2 separate regions of the Homo sapiens genome follow, and region 1 is linked to region 2. The links are contacts of gene promoters, found by promoter capture Hi-C in blood cells and fetal thymus (Javierre and others, 2016). All regions are on one chromosome and are shown on one strand. The core of a region is centred on a gene start or on the middle of the fragment in contact, and the rest is flanking DNA. Distances in the headings are between cores, read along the strand shown. Region 1 holds the start of NDUFA11 (NADH:ubiquinone oxidoreductase subunit A11). Region 2 holds the start of HDGFL2 (HDGF like 2).

Region 1 (5,633 bases), core at 345-2,844, 1.4 Mb before region 2:
CCCTGCTGAAGAGCCTGCTATGGCTCCCAATGCCTACGCTGGGCGGTCTGTGGTCCCTGCGTCGCTCAGCACCTGTGGGAAAGTGGGCCTGTTTGAAGTTAGAGGTCCACACCTGTGTCACTTCTCGCAACTTTACATACTGATTACTAATTCGAGTTTTTTGGTGTTTTTATCAATCCGATACTCAGTCTAGCGTCTATACAAGTGCACACGGTTCCCCCTGCCCTTCCTCGCTTTCCAGCCTCGGCTCTGCCTCCGCCTACCGCCTCGGTGAAGTCCACCTGGCCGGCCCCGGGCCTCACCGGTCCTTGGCGCGACCCAGTTCGTCTAGGGCGGCGCGCAGCTGCTGGTCGTGGAGGGCCAGGCGCTCGGCTTGGGCGTGCACCGTGCGCTCCGCCGCGTCCAGCCGCGCCTCCAGCTCCGCTGCGCGCCGGTGCACGGCTGCCAGGTGTGCGTTTGCCTCCCGGATCTGCAGGGCCGGCGGCGCCGACATGGCCCAGGCTGCTGTACAGGCCCGGCCACGCCCCCAGGCGGCCCGGAACTGGCACAGGCCCCGCCCCCGGGAGGGCCCCGCCCCACTAGACCTCGGCGCGATTGGTCGCTGACCCCGCTAGACCCCACCCCAGAGGGCTGGGTCGTGCTCTCCTCAAACCCAAACACTACCACCGGTTCCGGGATCATGAAACTCCGCCCCTGAGTTTGGGCTCACTCTAGGATTGGACAAGATCTTGACAGCCACGCCCCCAGGCTGGCCACATCCTTTGGCGGCTCGCGCAACTCAGGCTCTGGAAACAAGATTGGTCACACCTTCGATACTGTCCCCTCCCTACTTGGAAGCTAACACCAGGATTGGCCCGGACTCCGCGAAACAGCAAGCCTGACCACGCCCCCCGAACCTGTGGCCTGTCAGGGGTAGATCCAGGCACGGCCTCGCCCCTTCATCCCTTATACAGTCTCAGATTGGTCAAGTCCCTTTTAGGTTATGCCTCCAATTCTAGCCACGCCCCCAAGTCAAGCGCCTGTGTACTTCATCCGGCCTAGGGCGTGGGACAGCCGCGGGGTGAACAGAGGCCACGTCCCGCTGAGCTTCTCGTATTGTCATTGGTCACTTTCCCGATAATCCCCGCCCCTGATCCTGTCCACGGCCCAAAACAGTAGCACGCTGCTCAGACTCCAGCTTGGTGACTGACCACAGGGCATGACCACTCGCTATGCAGATTCTGACACTGGGTGTGGCCACATCCCCGCCATGCCCCGCCCCCCAGTCATTGTTTCGTCATGTCTTGCTCCTATCAACTGGAGTCCCGCCCGTCCCAGTCTGAGCCCGGCCCCTCCCCTAGTAGATAGTCCCCGCCTCTAGTAGTCCCTAACCTAGGACTCCCTGAGCTGGGACTAGCGAAATCTGTCTGCACTGATCGCAGTCGTCCTCAGTTTCACCCTCTAGGAATCGGCCTGGGGATGCACGTGCTACTCTCTTCCTCCAGGCCGGTCCCCGGCGCGTGCGCGCGATCCATGTCCATGTCCGCGCCTATCAATAAAGTTGCTCACTTGTTGCCGGCCCGCTAGCCCGAAAGGTTGCGCGCGCAGCCCGAGAAGTCTCGCGATAGCCAGCCGCGGCTGCCCTTGCGCTTCCCGAGCTGGCGGGGTCCGTGGTGCGGGATCGAGATTGCGGGCTATGGCGCCGAAGGTTTTTCGTCAGTACTGGGATATCCCCGATGGCACCGATTGCCACCGCAAAGCCTACAGCACCACCAGTATTGCCAGCGTCGCTGGTGAGCGCCGGCCGGGCCCCGAGGGTGGAGGGCCGAGGCCGCAGGGAGGTCGTGGGGTTACTGGGGGCTGTTTGGATCGAACGGGTCTGGGAGTCTCGCGGGTACGCACGTGGTTGTCATCGGGGTGTCTTGGGCGGTCGTAGGGGGGGATCTTGTGTGAAATGGATGTTGGTAGGGGGTCCAGCAGGGTTGGGGAGCACTGGGAGGTCGTGACATGCGACAAGCTAGTCCCTGGGGTCATCTGAGGCGGTCCCAAGCTATCGCCAGGCTCGGGGAAATTGTGGAGTGAGACAGGGCTATTATCAGGTCCAAGGAGCTAAGGGACCACGAGACTTTCCAACGGGGTAGAGATTGTTAGAGGGGATCATGAGTCATGATTGGGGCATCTGAGGGCGGTACAGATGTTTGAGAAAGTTTTGGGGTGGGATGAGGTCTTTCTGTGGTCAGGGGGTGCTGGGTGGTTAGGGACACCTGAAGCTTTTACTGGGACCGCCAGAGAGGTCCTAGGTGAGGTGGATCAGGAGCTACTATGAGGGTAGCCTTGCAGGGGAATGAAGGGGACCCGCAAGCCCTGGCATTCTCCTTTTTTTTTTTTTTTTTTGAGACAGAGCCTTGCTCTGTCGCCCGGGCTGGACTGCAGTGGCGAGATCTCGGCTCACTGCAACCTTCACGTCCCTGGTTCGAGCAATTCCCTTGCCTCAGCCTCCCAAGTAGCTGGGATTACGGGCTCACGCCACCGCGCCTGGCTAATTATTTTGTATTTTTAGTAGAGACGGGGTTTCACCGTGTTGGCCAGACTGATCTGGAACTCCTGGTCTCAGGCCATCCGCCCATCTCGGGCTCCCAAAGTGCTGGGATTACAGGCGTGAGCCACCATGCCCGGCCGGCCCTGGCATTCTCTTATAGAGTAAATCTGAGTCTTGCCCCTTCCAGCCTGAGCGTTTCATGGGCATCATGCCCTTTAATTCTCAGCCACAGGTTGGGACTCATCAGGTCCCAGATGGAGCTGGAAGTCCTCTTCCCTCTGATGAAGAATCTTTACAAACTGGGCCAGGCGCGGTGGCTCACACCTGTAATCCGGCGCTCAGGAGGCCAAAGTGGGAGGATCGCTTGAGGCCAGGAGTTCCAGACCAGCCTGGGCAAAATAGCAAGATCCCCATCTCTGCAAAAAAGTAAAACAATTAGCTGGGCATGATGGTGCGTACCTGTAGTCCCAGCTACTCAGGAGGCTGAGACAAGAGGATCACTTGAAACCAGGAGTTCAAGGCTCTAGTGAGCTATGTTTGCACCACTGCACCCCAGCCTGGGCGACAGAGCGAGACCTTGTCTCAAAAAATAAAAATAATAGGCCGGGCATGGTGGCTCACACCTGTAATCCCAGCACTTTGGGAGGCGGATCATGAGGTCAGGAGATTGAGACCATCCTGGCTAACACGGTGAAACCCCGTCTCTACTAAAAATACAAAAAATCAGCCAGGCATGATGGCGGGTGCCTGTAGTCCCAGCTACTTGGGAGGCTGAGGCAGGAGAATGGCGTGAATCCAGGAGGCAGAGGTTGCAGTGAGCCGAGATTGTGCCACTGCACTCCAGCCTGGGCGACAGAGTGAGACGCTGTCTCAAAAAACAAAACAAAACAAAACCAGCCGGGCGCGGTGGCTCACGCCTGTAGTCCCAGCACTTTGGGAGGCCGAGGCAGGTGGATCACGAGGTCAGGAGATCGAGACCATCCTGGCTAACACGGTGAAAACCCGTCTCTACTAAAAATACAAAAAAAATTAGCCGGGCGTGGTGGTGGACACCTGTAGTCCCAGATACTCAGGAGGCTGAGGAAGGAGAATGGCGTGAACCTGGGAGGCGGAGCTTGCAGTGAGCCGAGATTGCGCCTCTGCACTCCAGCCTGGGCGACAGAGCAAGACTCCGTCTCAAAAAGAAAAAAAAAAAAAAACCCAAAGAAACAGTCTTTACAACCTGGTGTGTCTATAAGCTGAGGAATCAATTTGGTCAACTCTGTATTTCCAGCATATGTGAAACAGGGCCCGGCCAAAGTTGCGGCTCCATTGGGAGGCATTTGAATTAGGGCAGACCTAATCATCACTCCCATATTTTGCATATTTATTAATAGTAAGACAGACGTTATTGTGTCTCCATTTCTTACAGGTAGGGACTGAAGGTTGGAGAAGCATATTAACTGCTCCAGGGTCATTTGAAGCTGGGCTGCAAGTCCAGGTCGGCTGACCTGCTCCTAGGGGTCTCTGAAGCAAGGAATGTTCCCATCAGGTCCTTATCGAGGGTCTTCAAGAGAAAGGGCTGAAGGGGGCCACCCAGGGGATAGGATCTGAAACTGAGAAAGACGCGTATGTTGGTGTTCATGTGAGAGAGTGTGTGCATTCCTCATGTGTGAATACAAAATGAGTGGGCTGCGGTCTCAGGAGGCCTTTGGAGGAGACAGCTTGTCTCGGGGTGTGGTGCTGCTGAGTGAAGGGCCTCTGAGACCGGGGGTGCTCCCCAGAGGGTCTTAGAAGGGGAGGTCAGAACTTTTGACAGAGTTGCCATGTCAGGAGATCGCTGATGGCATCAGATTTAGATTTAGGGGTGCTCAGTGGCTTCTGTGAGCCCTCCAAGGGTGCCCCGGGGTCTTTGAGAGTGACATTCATTCTCCCTAAATTTTTCTTTTTTCTTTTTTCTTTTTTTTTTTTTTTTTGAGACGGAGTCTCATTCTGTCACCCAGGCTGGAGTGCAGTGGTGCGATCTTGGCTTACTGCAACCTCTGCCTCCCAGCAATTCTTGTGTCTCAGCCTCCCAAGTAGCTGGGATTACAGGTGCCTGCCACCGTGCCTGGCTAATTTTTGTATTTTTAGTAGAGACAAGGTTTCGCCATGTTGGCCAGGCCGGTCTCAACCTCCTGACCTCAGGTGATCCGCCCGCCTTGGCCTCCCAAAGTGCTGGGATTACAGGCGTGAGCCACTGCACCCACCCTTCTCCCTAAATTCTTCAGTGACCAGCTCCACTCATTGTGCAGAACTTGCTGAAACGTGTTTCTGGGTCCTCCCCTCACTGCCCCACTCACTTCATTCCGGGGCTCCCCTCACTTCTCATCTGAGGGAGATAAATTGTTTCCTGGCTGGCTTCCCTGAGTTGGGGACCCTGGACGGCGGGGAGACTATACTCAGCAGAGCCCAGGACCTGTGGGCACATGATAACTATGGATGAATGAATGAATGAATGAATGAAGCATCTTGTGGGCACCATTTGTGAGTGAATGAATGAGTGAATGTGGCACCTTGTTAGGTACTCGGTAACTTTGTGAATGAATGAATGAGTGGCAGTAGCTGAATGAATGAATGAATTCACACTGGGTCTGGCGGTCACTGTGGGAGGCTCAGAGGAAACCAGCAGTTTCCCTTCAGAGGGAAGGGGGCCTTTTGAAGGGCGCTGGGGGCTCCTGGAGGGGTGGATATGGCAGGACACCACAGCTGGATGACAGCTGGGGCAGAGTTGGGGTGGGGCAGTCCTTGACCTCTATGGGATAATCAGGGGGTCCCAGCTCGTCCACTCCCAGTTCAAGGACTTTGGAAGGGATGGAGGATGGTGGGCGCACTCACCGTGTCAGGTGTGCTCCATGAGCTAGGGGTCCCTTGGTCAGGACAGCTGGCATGTGGGGGTGGTGTAAGGAGGTTCCGCCCAGGAGTCCCTCGGTGACAGTTCTGGGGGCGTCACTGAGTCTTGTCGGTGGTTCCCTCTTGAGATGAGAGGGTTATAAGACTGTCATGGCTGGCCCAGCCCTGGATCAGGACTTTTCAGGTCCCAGGCAGGGCTGGCAGTCCCCTCCCATTAAGAATCTTCAAGTCCGGGCATGGTTGC
Region 2 (5,946 bases), core at 1,488-3,987:
CACCTGAGCAAAGCCAGATCCGGCCCTCTGAAGCAACCAGGGGGTGGGGCCAAGCTCAGCGTCTATGGACTCCCAGGACCTTTCCTGGGGACCCCTCCCGCAAAGAGGGGCTCACGGGCGGTCCCCCAGAGGATGCAGCTGGCAGCTCCAAGGATGCAGAGGGTGGGGGGTGGGCTACAAGAAACGGCCCTGAGCATCCAGGAAGTCCCACCCTCTCCCTGCAGGCCCATGGGCTCCGGCAGCTGTCAGTCACCTCCCCACAGGAGACTAACAGCCCCTTCACTTCCAATCAGGTGCTTGGAAACGTTTGGGGCTAGGAGAGCAGGCTGGAGAAGGGGGGACGGGGGAGAGAAAAGCGAGTGCTCTGGGAAGAAGAGAGCTGGGAAAGGGAGGGAAGTGCCTATAAAGTTGCATTGCTCTGGTCTCCCCCAAGAAAGTCAGCGCGAGCACAGCAGGCTGGAGTGGCTTCTCCCCTCCCAATGCATTCCTTCCCCATCCACGTCTCCAGCTTCTAGGGGGCTCCCGATCTTCCCTGCCCCACTCACCCAGCTTCCTTCTCGCTTGGGTCTCCTCAGAGCTACTTTATCAGAGTCCCTGGCCCCTGGGCTCGGCCATGGGCCGCCAGGCCCAGCATCCCTCTCCCGCCAGAAGCATCCTAAATTCAGTCCACCCGAGGACCAGCCCGGCATGCCTCACAGCCCCGCTTCTCCCAAGACCCGCCCACGGTCCTCCGAGGCCCACCCATCCCAGCGGCATTGCCAGCTTCGGACCTGGGCTGGTTCTGGTCCAGAGCACCGTTTGGTGTCCCCCTCCACAGCCCCTCCCTGCTGCCCCAGCCTTCCACCCCCAGTGCCAAATTCCTCAGTCCTGCCCGGCAAATTCCACCAACCTCAGCCCTGGGAGACTCAGCCCTAAGACCTGGGGATGACAATAGCCTGGGGTCCCTGCTTCCCGCTGGCCTGTACCTCTCAGGGCCTGGAACTCACCCCCTCCACACCTGGGACTCCAAGGTGCGGAATATCCTTCAGGCCAGGACACCTGGGACTATCCAGGTCGTCGGGACCCCAGCTTCCACCAAAGGGGCATCCAAGGTCCCCTCGGCCAGCCCCCTTCCCTCAGAAGCGCTCCCACTCCCTGGGCCCGGGCCTGTCTCCATTTCAAGCATTGGGGTTGGACCACCCCACCCTCAAGTCCCTCCAAAACCAGCTTCTACATCCTCCTCCCCACAGGGGACCAATCCCCAGGGTCCCCCAACAGTCCCGATGCCAACTTCATTCTAAGGTCCAGTTCCCCGAGTCCCAGTGACCCCGTGAACAGAGCCCCGAGCCCCATTCCCCCACCCCCAGCCCCTCACTCAGAGGTCCCAGCTTCCCTTAGCCTTGACCCTCAACCTTCCCCCCTGACTGCCTCCTCCAACCCTGGACCCCTAGCACATGGCCCTCGGCCCCCCAGCCCCTCAAAACTGGGCTTCTCCAGGACCCACAAGGGAGTGCTTCAGCCCCCATATCTGACCCCAAATCTCAAGTTCCGCAGTTCTGCTCAAACTTGAACCTTGAGCCCTCAGGCCTGGGATCCCCAGGCCCTCAGGTGAGGGTCCCTCAGGTCCCAGACCCTCCCAGACACCCTGCGCACGGCTCCCTGAGGCACCCTGGACACCCCCAGACACACGAGGCGTGGCTCCCTCTGGGCCAGGGCAACCCCAGATCCCCATGGTGCAGCTCCCTCAGGCACAGAAGCCCCAGACCCCCAGAGCGCAGCTTCCTCAGGCCCAGGACCCCCAGACCATTGGCGCCGCAGCTCCTTCAGGCCCTGGACACCCCCCAGATCCCCACGGCGCAGCTCCCTCAGGTCCAGGACCGCCATTCCCCCAGAGTGAGAATTTATCAGGCCCCAGACCCCCAGGGCACCGCTTCCTCGGGCCCGGGACCCCCAGACCGTCGGCGCGCGGCTCTTTCAGGCCCCAAACACCCCCAAACCCCCAAGGTGCGACTCCCTCGGGCCCAGGATACCCCCAGACTCCCAGGGAGCGACTCTCTGAGCCCCAAAACCCTCATACACCAAGGGCGAGAGTCTCTCAGGCCGCAGACACCCTCAGAACCCCTAGGCGCGGCCCCCTGAGGCCCAGGGCCCCCAGACCCCGGGGCGCGGCTCCTGCAGGGCTTGGACACCCCCAGAACCCCAGGACGCAGCTCCCTGAGGCCGAGGACCCCCAGACCCCGGGAGGGGCTCCTGCAGGCCCAGACGGCGGGTCCTGCAGGATCCGAACACCACCAGACCACAAGAACGCGGCTCCCTGCAGCCCAGGACCCCCAGGCCCCGAGGGCGGGGCTCCCTGAGGCCCAGGATCCCTAGACCCCGGGGCGCGGCTCCGGCAGGCCCCGGACAACCCCAGACCCCTAGGGCGCAGCTCCCTGCGGCCCAGGACCCCCAGACCCCCAGGGCGGGGCCGCTGCGGGTCTCGGACACCCCCAGACCCCATGAACCCCAGACCCCCGGGGCGCAGCTCCTTCAGGCCCAGGACAACCCCGGCCCTCCAGTGCCCGCCTCCGGCCCGGGGCCCCCGCTGCCCCCCCCCCCCCCCCCACCGGCCCCATCTCCCGCGCGGCCTCACCCTGGCAGGCCAGTGAGGGTAGCCCTTCATCTTAGCGAACACCAAGTCCCCGGGCTTGAAGGCGTGTGGCATGCTGACGGCGAGAGGCCCAGGCCGCGGAAAGCGGCTGCAGCGGCGGTAGCGGCTGCGGCGGCGGCGGCGGCGGCAGCGGGAGGCGAAGCCGGGGGCGGGAGCGGGACGCCGAGGGGGCGGGGGAGGCTGTCTGGGCAGCCTGCCGACGCGCGCTTATTGGGCGTTGCGCCAACGGAAGTTCAGCCCTCCGGCCGTCACGGGCCGGCAAAGCCGTCGATCAGGACCACGTGCAGGGGACAGAGAAGGGAGGCGACCAATAAGAACAGAGGTTGGAGCACAGCAGTTAACGGGATTGGATAACGGACAGACCCAAGGGGCGTAACCCAGAGACTCTAATGGGAGGTTATGGGAGGTGAAAGGGAAAGGTGGGAGGAGACGAACAGACGCTCTAAGGGAGTGAAGGGGTGGAGCTTAAGGGAAAGAGGCAGGACATAGACCTCCACAAGAGAAGGGGATATAAGGAGGGCAGAACATTGGATACCGCAGAAAAGAAGGCCAATCACTTAACGCAATGGGCGGGTCATTGACAGCCTCTCCCGCTCAGGAGGAGAGGCTTAAAGTAGATATGCAAGCCATTGGATACCACAAGAGAAGCGCCTCAAGGTAGGGAGCAGGCATTGGCCATCACAAGAGGCGGGGCTTCAGCGGGAACGTCGGCCATTGGCTATCGAAAGAAGAGCGATACAACATAAAACAGGGACGGGCGATTGCCAGCTCGAGGAGGCGGGACTTAGAGGAAGGGGCAGGCTCCGGGGGAGCTCTTAGTATAAACAGCCACAAAATGCACAAAATAGTTATTTCTTCACTTAGTTAAAAACTTAACTGAGTACCTACTATATGCCAGGGCCCCAAAACGCCACACAGACCTATTCATTCATTCAAGAAAAATGTACTGAATACCGTGGGGCCGAGTCACTTGATTGTCCTGGGCTTCGCTCTCTGCACTTGGAAGATGGGGCCCATAATGATTGTGAGGACCCTGCTCTAGACTGAGCCCGGCAACAGGAAATACAGGAAGTATTAGAAGCTATAACTCGGCCGGACGCGATGGCTCACGGCTGTAACCCCGGCACTTTGAGAGGACGAAGCGGGCGGATCACGAGGTCAGGAGTTTGAGACCAAGCCTGGCCAACATGGTGAAACCCCGTCTCTACTAAAAATACAAAAATTAGCTGGGCGTGGTGGCACGCACCTATACCAGCTACTCAGGAAGCTGAGGCAGGAGAATCACTCGAACCCAGGAGCGGGGGGTTGCAGTAAGCCGAGATCGCGCCACTGCACTCCAGACTGGGTGACAGAGCAGAAAAAAAAAAGCTATAACTCTACCTTCCGGCAGGGCGTGGTGGCTCACGCCTGTAATCCCAGCACTTTGGGAGGCCGAGGTGGGTGGATCACGAGGTCAGGAGATCGAGACCATCCTGGCTAACATAGTGAAACCCCGTCTCGACTAAAAATACAAAAAAAATAGCTAGGCGTGGTGGCAGGCGCCTGTAGTCCCAGCTACTAGGGAGGCTGAGGCAGGAGAATGGCCTGACCCCGGGAGGCGGAGCTTGCAGTGAGCCGAGATCGTGCCACTGCACTCCAGCCTGGGCGACAGCGCGAGACTCTGTCTCAAAAAAAAAACAAAAACAAAAAACAAAACTCTACCTTCCAGGAATCAAGTATAACAGGGCCAAGAAATGTTAAGTTTTAAAATTTGTTGATGTTGCTGTGTTTTGTTTTGTTTTTTGTAATTAGGATCCATGGTAAGAACTAAAATGAACCAGGGTGCTTGAGGAAAAAAAGCTGAATAATGGAGACGACTTCTTCTCTCCTGGGGGATCACAGAGGGTTACTGGATGAAGTGAGTTTAACCAGACACTGGGAGAATGAATAGAAGTTGGACATGATAGTGAGGCGAGCCCTGGGAGGGCATGAGGAGCAGAGGGAAGAGCAAAAACAAGCGTCTGATCCTCACTTAAGGTCAGGAGTACGAGACCAGCCTGGCCAACATGGTGAAATCCCATCTCTAGAAAAAATACAAAAATTAGCCGGGCGTGGTGGTGGGCGCCTATACTCCTAGCTACTTGGGAGGCTGAGGCAGGATAATCACTTGAACCTGGGAGGCGGAGGGTGCAGTGAGCCGAGATCACGCCGTTACACTACAACCTGGGTGACAGAGCGAGACTCCGTTGCAAAAAACAAACGAGACCGGGCGCGGTGGCTCACGCCTGTAATCCCAACACTTTGAGAGGCCGAGGCGGGTAGATCACTTGAAGTCAGGAGTTTGAGACCACCCTGGCCAACATGGTGAAACCGCATCTCTACTAAAAATACAAAAAATTAGCCAGGCGTGGTGGCAGGCGCCTGTAATTCCAGCTACTCGGGAGGCTGAGGCACGAGAATCACTTGAACCCGGGAAGCGGAGGTTGCAGTGAGCCAAGATCATGCCACTGCACTCCAGCCTGGGTGACAGAGCGAGACTTTGATTCAAAAAAAAAAAGAAAAGAAAAGAAAAAGCAAACAAGCAAAAACAAGAACAACAACAGCAACAACAAAAAACCCATCTGATCCTAGGATGACTGTGTGTGAGTAGGGGAAACAGATAAAGCTGGAGGGCTGGAGGGGTCCGTAGAGGACCTATCACAATACATTACAAACATAAATGAGAAGTTTGGGTTTTATTTTAACTTCTTGGGAAACTATTGGGGGGATCTGATCAGAGGATACAAAGAGAGTATTTTATTCTCAAAAAACATCCCTATGCATGTGAAATATGGATCAACAAAGACCATTTCTTTAAAACTGAAACGTAAGGCCTGGCATGGCATCTCACACCAGTAATCCCAGCACGACTGAGGTGGAAAATTCGCTTGAGCCCAGGAGTTCGAGACCAGCCTGAGCAACATGGTTAAACCCCATCTCTACAAAAAATATAAAAATCAGTTGGGCATGATCCGCACACTTCTACTCTGAGCTACTCAGGAGGCTGAGGAATGAGGATCGAGCCCAGGGAGGCAATGGTTGCAGTGAGCTGAGATTGCACCACTGCACTCCATCCTGGGCAACAGAGCTAGACCCTGTTTCAAAAAAATACAATAGGCCGGGCGCGGTGGCTCACGCCTGTAATCCCAGCACTTTGGGAGGCTGAGGTGGGCAGATCACGAAGTCAGGAGTTTGAGACCAGGGCAGCCAACATAGTGAAACCCCATGTCTACTGAAAAACAAAAATTAGCTGGGCATGATGGTGTGTGCCTGTAGTCCCAGCTACTCAGGAGACTGAG

What was found. The method cuts DNA at HindIII sites, captures the fragments that hold promoters and counts their contacts. A CHiCAGO score of 5 or more calls a contact.
Region 1: a contact is called between the fragment with the promoter of NDUFA11 here and the fragment with the promoter of HDGFL2 in region 2, in 1 of 17 cell types (neutrophils). The highest score is 5.1, in neutrophils.

What each region holds. Positions count from the first base shown.
Region 1 is chr19:5,899,751-5,905,383 of GRCh38, reverse strand. NDUFA11 (NADH:ubiquinone oxidoreductase subunit A11) reads left to right here and starts at 1,594. Exons shown (of 4, transcript NM_175614.5): 1 at 1,594-1,772. The coding sequence starts at 1,676. It overlaps VMAC (vimentin type intermediate filament associated coiled-coil protein), which reads right to left and starts at 512. Exons shown (of 2, transcript NM_001017921.4): 1 at 303-512. The coding sequence starts at 493. RefSeq lists a silencer at 329-678 and enhancers at 719-838, 1,412-1,706, 1,516-2,162. The HindIII fragment of the contact is 6,218 bases long and covers 1-2,251 here.
Region 2 is chr19:4,469,088-4,475,033 of GRCh38, reverse strand. It overlaps HDGFL2 (HDGF like 2), which reads right to left and starts at 2,737. Exons shown (of 16, transcript NM_001001520.3): 1 at 2,612-2,737. The coding sequence starts at 2,683. RefSeq lists enhancers at 381-520, 1-822, 3,312-3,661, 3,922-4,091 and silencers at 2,542-2,601, 2,632-2,811. The HindIII fragment of the contact is 12,260 bases long and covers 1-5,946 here.